Linked DNA regions of Homo sapiens: all the other regions are linked to region 1. The links are contacts of gene promoters, found by promoter capture Hi-C in human tissues and cell types (Jung and others, 2019). All regions are on one chromosome and are shown on one strand. Each heading gives the region's core, a stretch centred on a gene start or on the middle of the fragment in contact. The rest is flanking DNA. Distances are from core to core; before and after follow the strand shown.

Region 1 (3,567 bases), core at 91-2,590:
CCACTGGTGAATTTCTTTCGGGATAGGCCAAAATGGATCTGGACTATAATCTTTACATATTTAGATCCTTCAAACTAGACCAAAAAGGAAATCTGGGCTGCAAGGCTCAATTAGAAGAACAGTGTGGGATGCTGCTTTGCTGACTATTGGGGGTCGCTGCCCCATGTCTTCAGAGGAGACTGGAGCCCAGTGCCTGCCATGACCAACTTATGAGGTGAAGTAAGGGCTTCCCCCTAGGAACGCATGTGCTTAATACAGATGTGCTGTGTGCTAGGTACCCTAAGGACTACAGGAAATAATGAGAATACATGATGTGTCCATAACAAGGAGGCACACAGGCCACGGCACCAGCTCTGGAATCACACAGCCCAGGTTCGAAGCCTGGCTAGGCCACTGTCATATCAATGACCCAAGGAGCAAGCAGCCTAAGGCTTAAATGTTGTTGCTGTTGTTTGTTGTGGTTTTTTGTTTTTGTTTTTGTTTGAGACAAGAGTTTTGCTCTGTTCCCCCAGGCTGGAGTGCAGTGAGGTGATCTCAGCTCACTGCAACCTCCACCTCCCGCTTTCAAGCGATTCTCCTGCCTCAGCCTCCCTAGTAGCTGGGATTACAAGTGCGTGCCACCACGCTCAGTTAATTTTTGTATTTTTAGTAGAGATGGGGTTTCACCATGGTGGTCAGGCTGGTCTCGAACTCCTGACCTCAGGTGATCCACCCGCCTTGGCCTCCCAAAGTGCTGGGATTAAAGGCGTGAGCCACCGCGCCCAGCCTTAAATGTTGTTTAAAACAAATTTGTGAAAAGAAGTGAAGAGGCCCTGCCTGCCAGGAAGAGATGTGGTAGGGCGTAGCATCTAGTCAGGACAAGGCACCACGTCCCCTCCTCGGAAACCCTCACGGCCTGGCTGGTGACCCTGGCGCCACAGAGACGGCACACCTGGCTCCAGGCAGCACAGAGCACTGCCAAGGTCCTAGAGGAGGCTGGCAGGATATAGGTTGTCCTGTGCTTAACTTGAAGCAGATGTGCCCTCTGTGAACCGGGGAATGGGGACGGCCGACACAGGGCCACTGCGTGCAACAGCGCCGGGCCAGGGCTAAGGAACAGGCAGAGCCGGCGCCCAGGTGACAAGAGCTCTGGCGATGGGCCCGCAGGCCCCAGCAGTTCCCTCATAGAGGCCACGCGGTGCAACACCTGCCACCGGCAGCGGGGCTTCCGGGGGTCCTGGGGCAGCTGGGGCCGACGGGGCGTCGCCCTTTGCCCTCTGACCCCTGCCTTTTGCGCCCCCGCTGGCGCTCCCTGGTTCTGTGAGGAACCTCGCGGCGGCGTCGCAGGCGTAGAGCCAGTCAGTTTGTGCTTGGTCGCCAGAGGAGGCGGTGGCTGAGGAGAGTTGAGTCCACTGCTGACCCTGTTTTACGGTAGGAGGCACGGCTAGCTCTAAATGGGCAATTTACTTAGTAAATTTAGACCCGGGTGCCGCCGCCGGCCCCTGCCAGGGCCAGGGCGTGGCGCCCCCGCTCCCCTGTCCCGGGACGCCTCCCCGCCCGGTCGGGCTCACTCTGTACCCACCCCGCGCCCTTTCCGCGGCCTGTTCCGCCGGAACGCCCGTCGCAGGCCTTCAGCAGCCAGCATCTTCGTCGCCCCTAAGAGGCCGTGTCCTCTCCCTCGGGCTGCGGCCGCCCCTCTGGGGGTCCTGCCGGCTGTGGGTTGGGGGCTGGCCATCAGGAAGACACCCATGCTGCCTGCTCGGAACCCCCCGAGGTTTGGACACCCCAGTTCCGTAAGGATCCCTCCTCCCAGCCGCATGTTCACTCTCCTGCTGCCTTCACCACGTGAGCCGGCGGTCAAGGCCAGGAAGCCCATCCCAGCCACTCTCCTGGAGGAGACCGAGGTGTGGGCCCAAGAAGGGCCCAGAAGAGTGAAGAAGGATGAGGATCCGGTGCAGATCGAAGGGGAGGATGACGAGAAAAGGACCCCCCTTAGCAGCGGAGAAGCATCGTCCACATCCAGGTCCCAGGGCACCCAGGGAGACGTGGCCTCCTTCAGATGCAGCCCTGGGCCTCTGGAGGGAAATGTCTACCACAAGTTCTCAGAAAACAGCATGAGTGAGAAGGCCCAGGCGTCTCCAGCGAGCTCCTGCTTGGAAGGCCCTGCCATGCCCAGCACACACAGCCAGGCCGGATGTGCCCGGCATCTTGGAAAGCCTGATCCGGATGCAACAGCGCCCCCTGAGCCAGCCGTTGGCTGCTCCCTGCTGCAGCAGAAGTTGGCTGCGGAAGTGCTGAATGAAGAGCCACCGCCCAGCTCCCTAGGCTTGCCGATTCCGCTGATGTCCGGAAAGAGGATGCCTGATGAGAAGCCTTTCTGTATTCCTCCAAGGAGCGCTGCTCCTCCCAGAGCTGCCCGCAACAGGCCCTGCAAAAGGAAAATGTCGATTCCATTGCTGCTGCCGCTGCCCCCTTCACTGCCATTGCTGTGGGATCGAGGTGAGCTTCCCCCACCTGCTAAGCTCCCCTGCCTGTCTGTTGAGGGAGACCTACACACCTTGGAGAAGAGCCCTGAGTATAAAAGGAATAGCAGAATCTTGGAGGATAAAACAGAGACCATGACAAACAGCAGCATCACCCAGCCTGCCCCTTCTTTCTCCCAACCTGTGCAGACCACAGACTCCCTGCCCCTGACCACTTACACTTCCCAGGTCTCAGCTCCTTTGCCCATCCCTGACTTGGCTGACCTGGCTACTGGACCCCTCATCCTGCCTATCCCTCCACTTTCCACCACACCAAAAATGGATGAGAAAATAGCATTCACAATCCCTAACTCTCCTCTGGCTCTTCCTGCTGACCTTGTTCCCATTTTGGGTGATCAGTCTAATGAGAAAGGAGGCTCTTATAATTCAGTCGTAGGAGCAGCGCCTCTCACTTCTGACCCCCCAACACCTCCTAGCTCCACACCCTCCTTCAAGCCTCCCGTCACAAGGGAGTCCCCAATATCTATGTGTGTGGATTCCCCTCCTCCTCTTTCCTTCCTGACTCTTCTTCCAGTCCCTTCCACCGGGACCTCAGTTATCACCAGCAAGCCTATGAATTCCACGTCAGTCATTTCCACTGTCACAACAAACGCATCTGCCCACCTAACCTCACAGACTGCGGTAGACCCTGAAGTAGTTAATATGGATACTACTGCCCCATCTCAGGTTGTTATTTTCACATCTTCCCTAAGCTCCAGAGTGAGCTCTCTCCCAAATTCCCAAATACATTGCAGTGCAGAGCAGAGGCACCCGGGAAAGACATCAGTCTACACATCCCCACTTCCATTTATATTCCACAATACCACCCCAAGTTTTAACCAACTCTTTGGAAAAGAAGCCACCCCTCAGCCCAAATTTGAGGCTCCTGATGGGCAGCCGCAGAAAGCTTCTCTCCCCAGTGCCTGTGTTTTCCTGAGCCTTCCCATCATTCCTCCTCCAGACACCTCCACTTTAGTGAACAGTGCCTCTACAGCATCATCATCCAAACCTCCCATTGAAACCAATGCTATGCATACCACTCCTCCTTCCAAGGCTGTCATCTTGC
Region 2 (3,152 bases), core at 599-3,098, 330 kb before region 1:
TTAATTGTATCATATGTTGAACCAAACTTGCATTCCTGAGGTAAATACCTTTTGCCATAGTTTATAATACTTTCTACATGTTGCTGATTTCATTTGATAATGTCTCCCTGGTGATTTTTGTCTCTGTATTTATAAGGCATATTGGTCTTCATTCTCCTTATTTGAAATATATTTGTGTAGTTGTTCAATCAGGGTAAACGAATTCATAGTATACAATGGGAAGTAATCTATTTTCTACTTCTTTATTATTATTGTATTGTTTTGAAATATTTTTGATAAATTAGTATTAATTTTCTGTGATTTTAATAACACATCAGTGAGTTCCTGATGAGGGAAGGGAAGTGAATCCTAAGAACAATCATGTGAGTTTGGAAGGAGACCCTTCCCCAGCTGAGCCTCAGCCTGAGCCATCACCTACATCTAGACCGAAGACCCAGAGAAACCGTGAGTAATATGTGTGTGGTTCTGAGCCACTAAGGTACGTACTAATTTGTTATGCACCAAGTAGTAAGTAATATACTTGACAGTAATTGTAAGGTGGTATTCTGGATTAGGTCCTGGAATAGATAAGTATATGATTATTAAAAAACCTGGTAAAATATGAAGGAAGTTTGTAGATCAGTTAATAATCTCGAAAAACAGTTAAATTCTTAGTTTTCATGAATATGCTATGGTTATAATATATATTAACATTCTAGTTAGCTGAATGGTATATGAAACTGTCTGTACTTACCTATGTGCATTTATGTAAATCTGCAGTTATTTCAAAATAAATATGTTTTTTAATATTATTATTATTTTTTTAAGAAAAGTAAGCAAGTAAAGACATCAGCAAAAAACTTTTGCCTCCAGATACAAGTGGGCATGTAGGGAGAGAATAGTAAACTGGCTTTTCTTTTCTAGGCAACATTCGAAACCCAGGTGCCACTCCTTCAGGAAGGTACCATCAAGCTCCAAGGACTCTTATCCTCTTTCTCCTTCCCCACTACCTAGTCATTAGAGCGTCAGCATCCACTTCTTGAAAGGAAGATGCCTGTTTTTCACATATCCCAGAAAACCCCATTTTAGGACAGCATTTAGCAGAGTATATTCAGGATCCCACTAACCTTTTTGGAAGACATGACTTCCAGATGATATAAGGCAAGAATAAGAAATTTCAGTGACAGGGAACAGAAATCATATTTCTGCATTCAGGATCATGTTTTCTTGGTACGGGGATTTCTTCTTCAAGTAACCCAAGGTCAACTTTACCTTCAAACCTTTCAGAAAACCTGTTCTAATTTACTTTGCTTCTTTCTACAGGCTCCATCAGGAACTGTGCAGGACTGTGCACTCTGTTGATACTCACATGGTGGAATTATATTGCCTTTGGCCAACCCTAAAGCCATCAAGATAGCAGGTAAGCAGAGTACAAAAAATATTTCTCATAAGTTGGTGCAGGGCAGTCCCTGCTTCCAGAGGCCTGGGAATAAAACTTTACAACAGAGTTTTTGCAGGTGAATGATACTGAGTGATATATACATGTTGTGCACAAGAAGAGAAATCTCAGTAGACAAAAAAACAAACAAACAAAAAAACCAGTATACAGCATATCTCCAACCCTCCATGCAGTGATCTGAGAGACAGAAACAGGGTGACTGATGACTCTGCATGTGTACTCGCTGCCCACTAATTCTCCACACAGCTTCCTATTAAGAGGCCATTGCACTCTTCTTAGTAGCAGCAGAGTTGTTTTCAGGAACCATGCCTAAAAGGCCTACAAAGCCATGGAGGTACATATTAAACTCCCATTGACATCCATAAATCTTGAATAGCAGGATGTCACAGGCACAGATGACAAAGTGCTGAGCACTGAGTCCCCAGACAAACTTTCACTGCATGGAAGATATGATTTCGCACAGTATCCTAAATCAACAGTTGTATAGAGGCTGGTCTGGACACCACAAGTCTACAGAAGATGCTATTGCAAACAAACCACATTTTTAGACGACATCATGAGGCAAACCCAGTGCTCTGTCTCCACACTCTAACCTGATAAGAAGATTGAGTTCAAGGAAGGAATGTCTCATATATGTAATGGCATGGCTTTGTGTTTACTTAATTCAACCTTCCCGGAGTCTAAAACTCTAGGTGAAATTTCAGTCAGCCCCCTTAACTCTGACTGTATGAGTTTTTTCATCACTCAGTGTACTCATGAGGGGACATCGAAACCGATTCCAATATCCAATTACCCAAAGTAGAGTTGACCAGAGAAGCAAGGGGGCAGATCAGAATATCTTATAAAGACCATTATGCATTCACTTCTGCAGTGACTAATCATAAGGTGATTTCTACGATCACCAGCCATGTGATTAAAAGGACAAATGTGAATGAAGAAAAAGATATACAAATGTTACAGCTGAAAGAATGGAATCTGTAATGAAGTTTACAGGAAGCGTTGCTCATATTTCTAAGATTACAGTTTAAAGTTTCAAAATACAGGATTTTCCCACGTCTTTAGAGAGCTAGCACTCCAGTAAATTTTTCAAGTAACTCTTTACAATTTTCATCTTTGTCTTCAATGGATTTCTTAAACCATGGTTCATAGAACTATATTTCCATATGTGACATAAGAATTCTAGCACTCCACTAATAACTCTAATGTGTCTAAAATTATAAATGCAGTTTATAACACCTCTCTGGACACTCACTTTAATGAGAAGTGGACAAACTGGACTTCCCTAATGGAGGGCAGTGGTGAAGCTTCCAGGTAGAATATAAATGCAGTTTATAAATTTATATGGTAAGATTTAAGCATATTTCCTCAATAACAAACAAGAATATAGCCAATGAGCCACCATAATTTAACAGTGAGAAACAAGCAGTCACAGAGAAAACAGTGTATTCCATTCATCGTAGAGTGCACATTTTCACATCTATCAAATACAGATGCATCTTAAATTTGAAAGCGTTAAAACACTGTTGACGGGAAGGCAGTCATAATGTGATTGTCCTCATTTACCTGTATATGAGCTTTGTCTGCAAACCTCCTGTTGATGTTTTTGGGTGATGTCATCAACATCAGCATCAAATCTTGCACAGGAGGTTTCAGAAGGTTGAAAATAGAGACTCGCAGGAGCAAGGTAGGAATCTCACAGGAAATGCAGCATCAC
Region 3 (3,639 bases), core at 758-3,257, 450 kb after region 1:
TTTGTGGATATCTTATTTTATGGATTGTTATATATTGCAATCATTGTTTGTGTTTGATTTTCAATTTTTTTTCTGGATTTGATCATTGGGAGCTCCTTAAAGTTGGCCCCTGTGTTCTTTTAATACAACCTCATAATTTTTTGACCACTTCTTATTTTCGGGTATCACAAGATATTCTAGGTTTATCTTGTATTTTCCTTCCCCACGCCTGTAATCAACCATTTCCTCAAGGGGTTCTAGTTCTTCATATTGGAAAATAGTATTTAGAAACCAAGATCTTGGTATTAAGTGTATTAATTGCTAATGGGGTTTTATTGCTTCTAGGCCTAGAGCTGGGAGCTGTGTGTCCGTTTACACACATACACATACACACACACCCCTATATTGTCTCTATTCATTTATCTATCTTAAATATATATACTAATAGTATGTAGAATACTATAGATAGTATATATCTATCTTTATTAAAAATCACAAGTTCATACTGTTGTGGATCATAATCCATCATCATATGGTTCATTTTATTCTTCCCTCTTGGCTTATTTGTGATTTGCTTCTTCAACAGTGAGAAACCTACCTTTCATTATCTACAATATGTTTTGTTATTTCTTCAGTGCAGTATACACTTAAATAATTTCAGAATTGCTAAATTATACCCCTTTAAAAATGAAATCACTAACTACAGCACAGTATTTAAATATAGTTCTTTTGTCTTTATCCTTAACAGCGTTCAGTCAACATACTATTATTTCTAAACGTATTTAGGTTAGTTATCTTTTTTTTCCTATCCCCTGCCATATGGTTACATTAATCATATAATCAAGCAGGTTTTTTTATTGTTTATATTCCATTTTGAGTTCCCTCACCTTTTGGATTATTTTAACTATATTTTGTATATGTGAAATATTACTATGTTTCTAAAAATTAGGACTGTGAGAAATACCACTCTCCCATCATCCCTGCTACACTGATTCTATTCCTCCCTTCTTTCCACCCTAATCTCACCCAACCCTTAGAGTTAACTAGTCTAATAGTTTCTGGTTTATTTTTTTCTCTTGTTATTCTTGTTCACAAGTGGGCAGATACATGTATATTTTATCATATATCACATGTATATTTTATATCCCCTTCCTTCTTACATGATTAGTGGCATACTATAGATTTTTTTTTGTTGCAGTTTTCTTTTTCCGCTTAATATGTCCTGGAAATCACTTCATGTGTATTCAAAGAGATATTCCTCATTCTGTCATGCTTAGTGCTTAACTCCATGGATGCACCACAATTTATTCAACCCCTCTGCTCTATGAGAATTGTTTGCAATATGTGTAAAGTATCACACTACAAATAGTTTTACATTGGATTGTTTATTTGCTCTTCGTTTGGAAGTGTTCTTTGTATTACTGGGACATACATTTCTTGTTCAATATATGTGTTGCAAAGGTTTCTTTCATTAAGTATCTTAGCCTGCCTGCCTTCCTTTCCATTTCCTTTCTTTTTCTTTTCTTTCTTCTCCTTTTAATGCTGTTATGCTCTAAATTTTAAAATGGCCCGAATTTGCCAGTGGCTCATCCCTTATTGCTATTTATTCTTCCTCTCCTTTTCTCCCCCATCTCTTTTCCTTTAATTTACGTGAAATTAACATAACGTAGCCATTTAGTGCATTCAAAATGTTTTGCAACTGCCATCCTTAACTAGTTCCAAAACATTTTCAGCACCCCAAAGACAACCCATACCCATTAAGCAGTCAGTCCCAACTCTCTTTCCCCATCTTTTCATTTTTGTTTTTTGGAGTTTTTTTGAGACAAAGTCTCACTTTGCACCCAGGCTGGAGTGCAATGGCACAATCATAGCTCACTGCAGCCTCAAATTCCTGGGCTTATGCAATACTTCCACCTTAGCCTCCCGAGCAGCTAGGACTACAGGCATATGTCACCACACCAGGCTAATTTATAAAAAAAATTTTTTAGACACAGAGTCTTGCAGTGTTGCCCAGGCTTCTTGTGTCTTTCGATAAACAGACATTGAAAATTTTTAAGTCCAGTATATCAGTTTGAGTCTCTTATTTTTAGTGCTTATTACTTACTATTAAATCTTTGCTTACTCCAGGTTTGCAAATAATAGTTTTCTAAGTTTTCTTCTAGAAGCTTTGGGACATAAGTATAACATCTATCTCAAATCATTTTCAAATGTAGTTGAAGTTACTTGTTTTCATCAATCTCCAGTTGTTGCAGAACCATTTGATCAAAAGATTTTTCTTTTTCTACTGAATTATCTAATGCCATTGTTGAAAATAAGTTGGCCATTTACGTATGGATCTTTTTTGAACTCTCTGTTTTTCCTTCTTTATGCCATTCTTTTTCACTGAAGTTTAATAGTAAATCTTGAGATTAAGTAGTGTGAGTCCAAAATTTTGTTATTTCAAGGCTTTATAGAGGAAGGAGATGGCTACACTGGGTCCTTTGTATGTTCACTTAAATTTTAAAATTATCTTGTCAATTTCCTAAAAAGCCCAACCGAGAAATTGATTTTGATTACATCAAAACTATAGATAAATTTAGGGGGGATTGACATCTTAACAATGTTGAGTCTGTAGTTCTCCATTTATTAGGTCGTCTATAATTTCTCATAGATGTCTTTTATGGTGTTTAGTATAGAAGCATACCTTGTAGTTTTCAATATAGAAACATTATTAAAATTTAACATTTAATAAACTAGATTAAATTGTTAAATTTATTTGTTTTGTTGTTTTGATGCTATTGTAAATGAATATGTTTAAATTTCGTTTTCCAGATTTGTTACTATTATATGAAAACAGTAATATTTTCACATTGCAACTGCTTTTCAGTTGGGTTGTCTTCTTTTCAGTCTTAGGAGAAAATATGTAATTTCTTACCATTAAGAAAGATACTAGCTGTTATTTTTTTGTAGATGCCCATTACCAAATTGAGCAAGTTTTATTCTAGTGCCAGTTTGCTGTTAATTTTTATAATAATAATGTGATAAATTTGCTGAATGTTTTTCTACATTTATTAATATAATCATGTTTTCCCCCTTATTCTCTTATTATGGGAGACTGCATTGGTCAGCTTTTGAATGTTAGCCCAACATTGCATTCTTGATGTAATCCAATTGGTCACTGTTATCCTTCTTGTATATATATTACTGTATTCAATTTTTCTGCTAGTTATTTAAGAGTTATTCACCTATGTCCGTGATGGCCATTATCCTGTGGTTTCCTTTTTAAAAATTATTTTTGTCAGATGTTGGCATTAGGCTTCATAAAATGTATTTAGTATAGTGCTCTATTTGCTAGTACACTTGACCCTTGAACAACAGACATGGAGATTAGGGGTTCAGACTCCCCCATAGTTGACAATCTGTGGACAATTGTTTGCTCTCCAGAAACTTAACTACGAATAGCCTACTGTTGACTGAAAGCCTTACAGATAACATAACTAGTCAATTAACACATATTTTATGTTATATGTATTACATACTATTTTATTAACAATAAAGTGAATGAGAGATAAAATGTTATTACGAGACATAAGGAAGAGAAAATATATTTACTATTCGTTACGTGAAAGTAGATGATCATAAAGGTCTTCATTCTCATTTTTATGTTGAATAGGCTGAGGA

The links. The method cuts DNA at HindIII sites, captures the fragments that hold promoters and counts their contacts. A contact is called where the count stands out against the background at its distance.
Region 2: a contact is called between a fragment that was not itself captured here and the fragment with the promoter of NPAP1 in region 1, in 2 of the 25 tissues and cell types used here (dorsolateral prefrontal cortex and mesendoderm cells).
Region 3: a fragment that was not itself captured here is called in contact with the fragment with the promoter of NPAP1 in region 1 in 1 of the 25 tissues and cell types used here (aorta).

Annotation. Positions count from the first base shown.
Region 1 is chr15:24,674,435-24,678,001 of GRCh38, forward strand. NPAP1 (nuclear pore associated protein 1) reads left to right here and starts at 1,341. Exons shown (of 1, transcript NM_018958.3): 1 at 1,341-3,567. The coding sequence starts at 1,434. The HindIII fragment of the contact is 8,790 bases long and covers 1-3,567 here.
Region 2 is chr15:24,346,109-24,349,260 of GRCh38, forward strand. The region is part of intron 2 of LOC105370733 (a long non-coding RNA gene); the gene reads left to right. Among named protein-coding and RNA genes, the nearest start is that of PWRN3, 93 kb to the right of the region's middle. The HindIII fragment of the contact is 7,486 bases long and covers 1-3,152 here.
Region 3 is chr15:25,124,460-25,128,098 of GRCh38, forward strand. The region is part of intron 61 of SNHG14 (small nucleolar RNA host gene 14); the gene reads left to right. Among named protein-coding and RNA genes, the nearest start is that of PWAR1, 9.4 kb to the right of the region's middle. The HindIII fragment of the contact is 3,468 bases long and covers 274-3,639 here.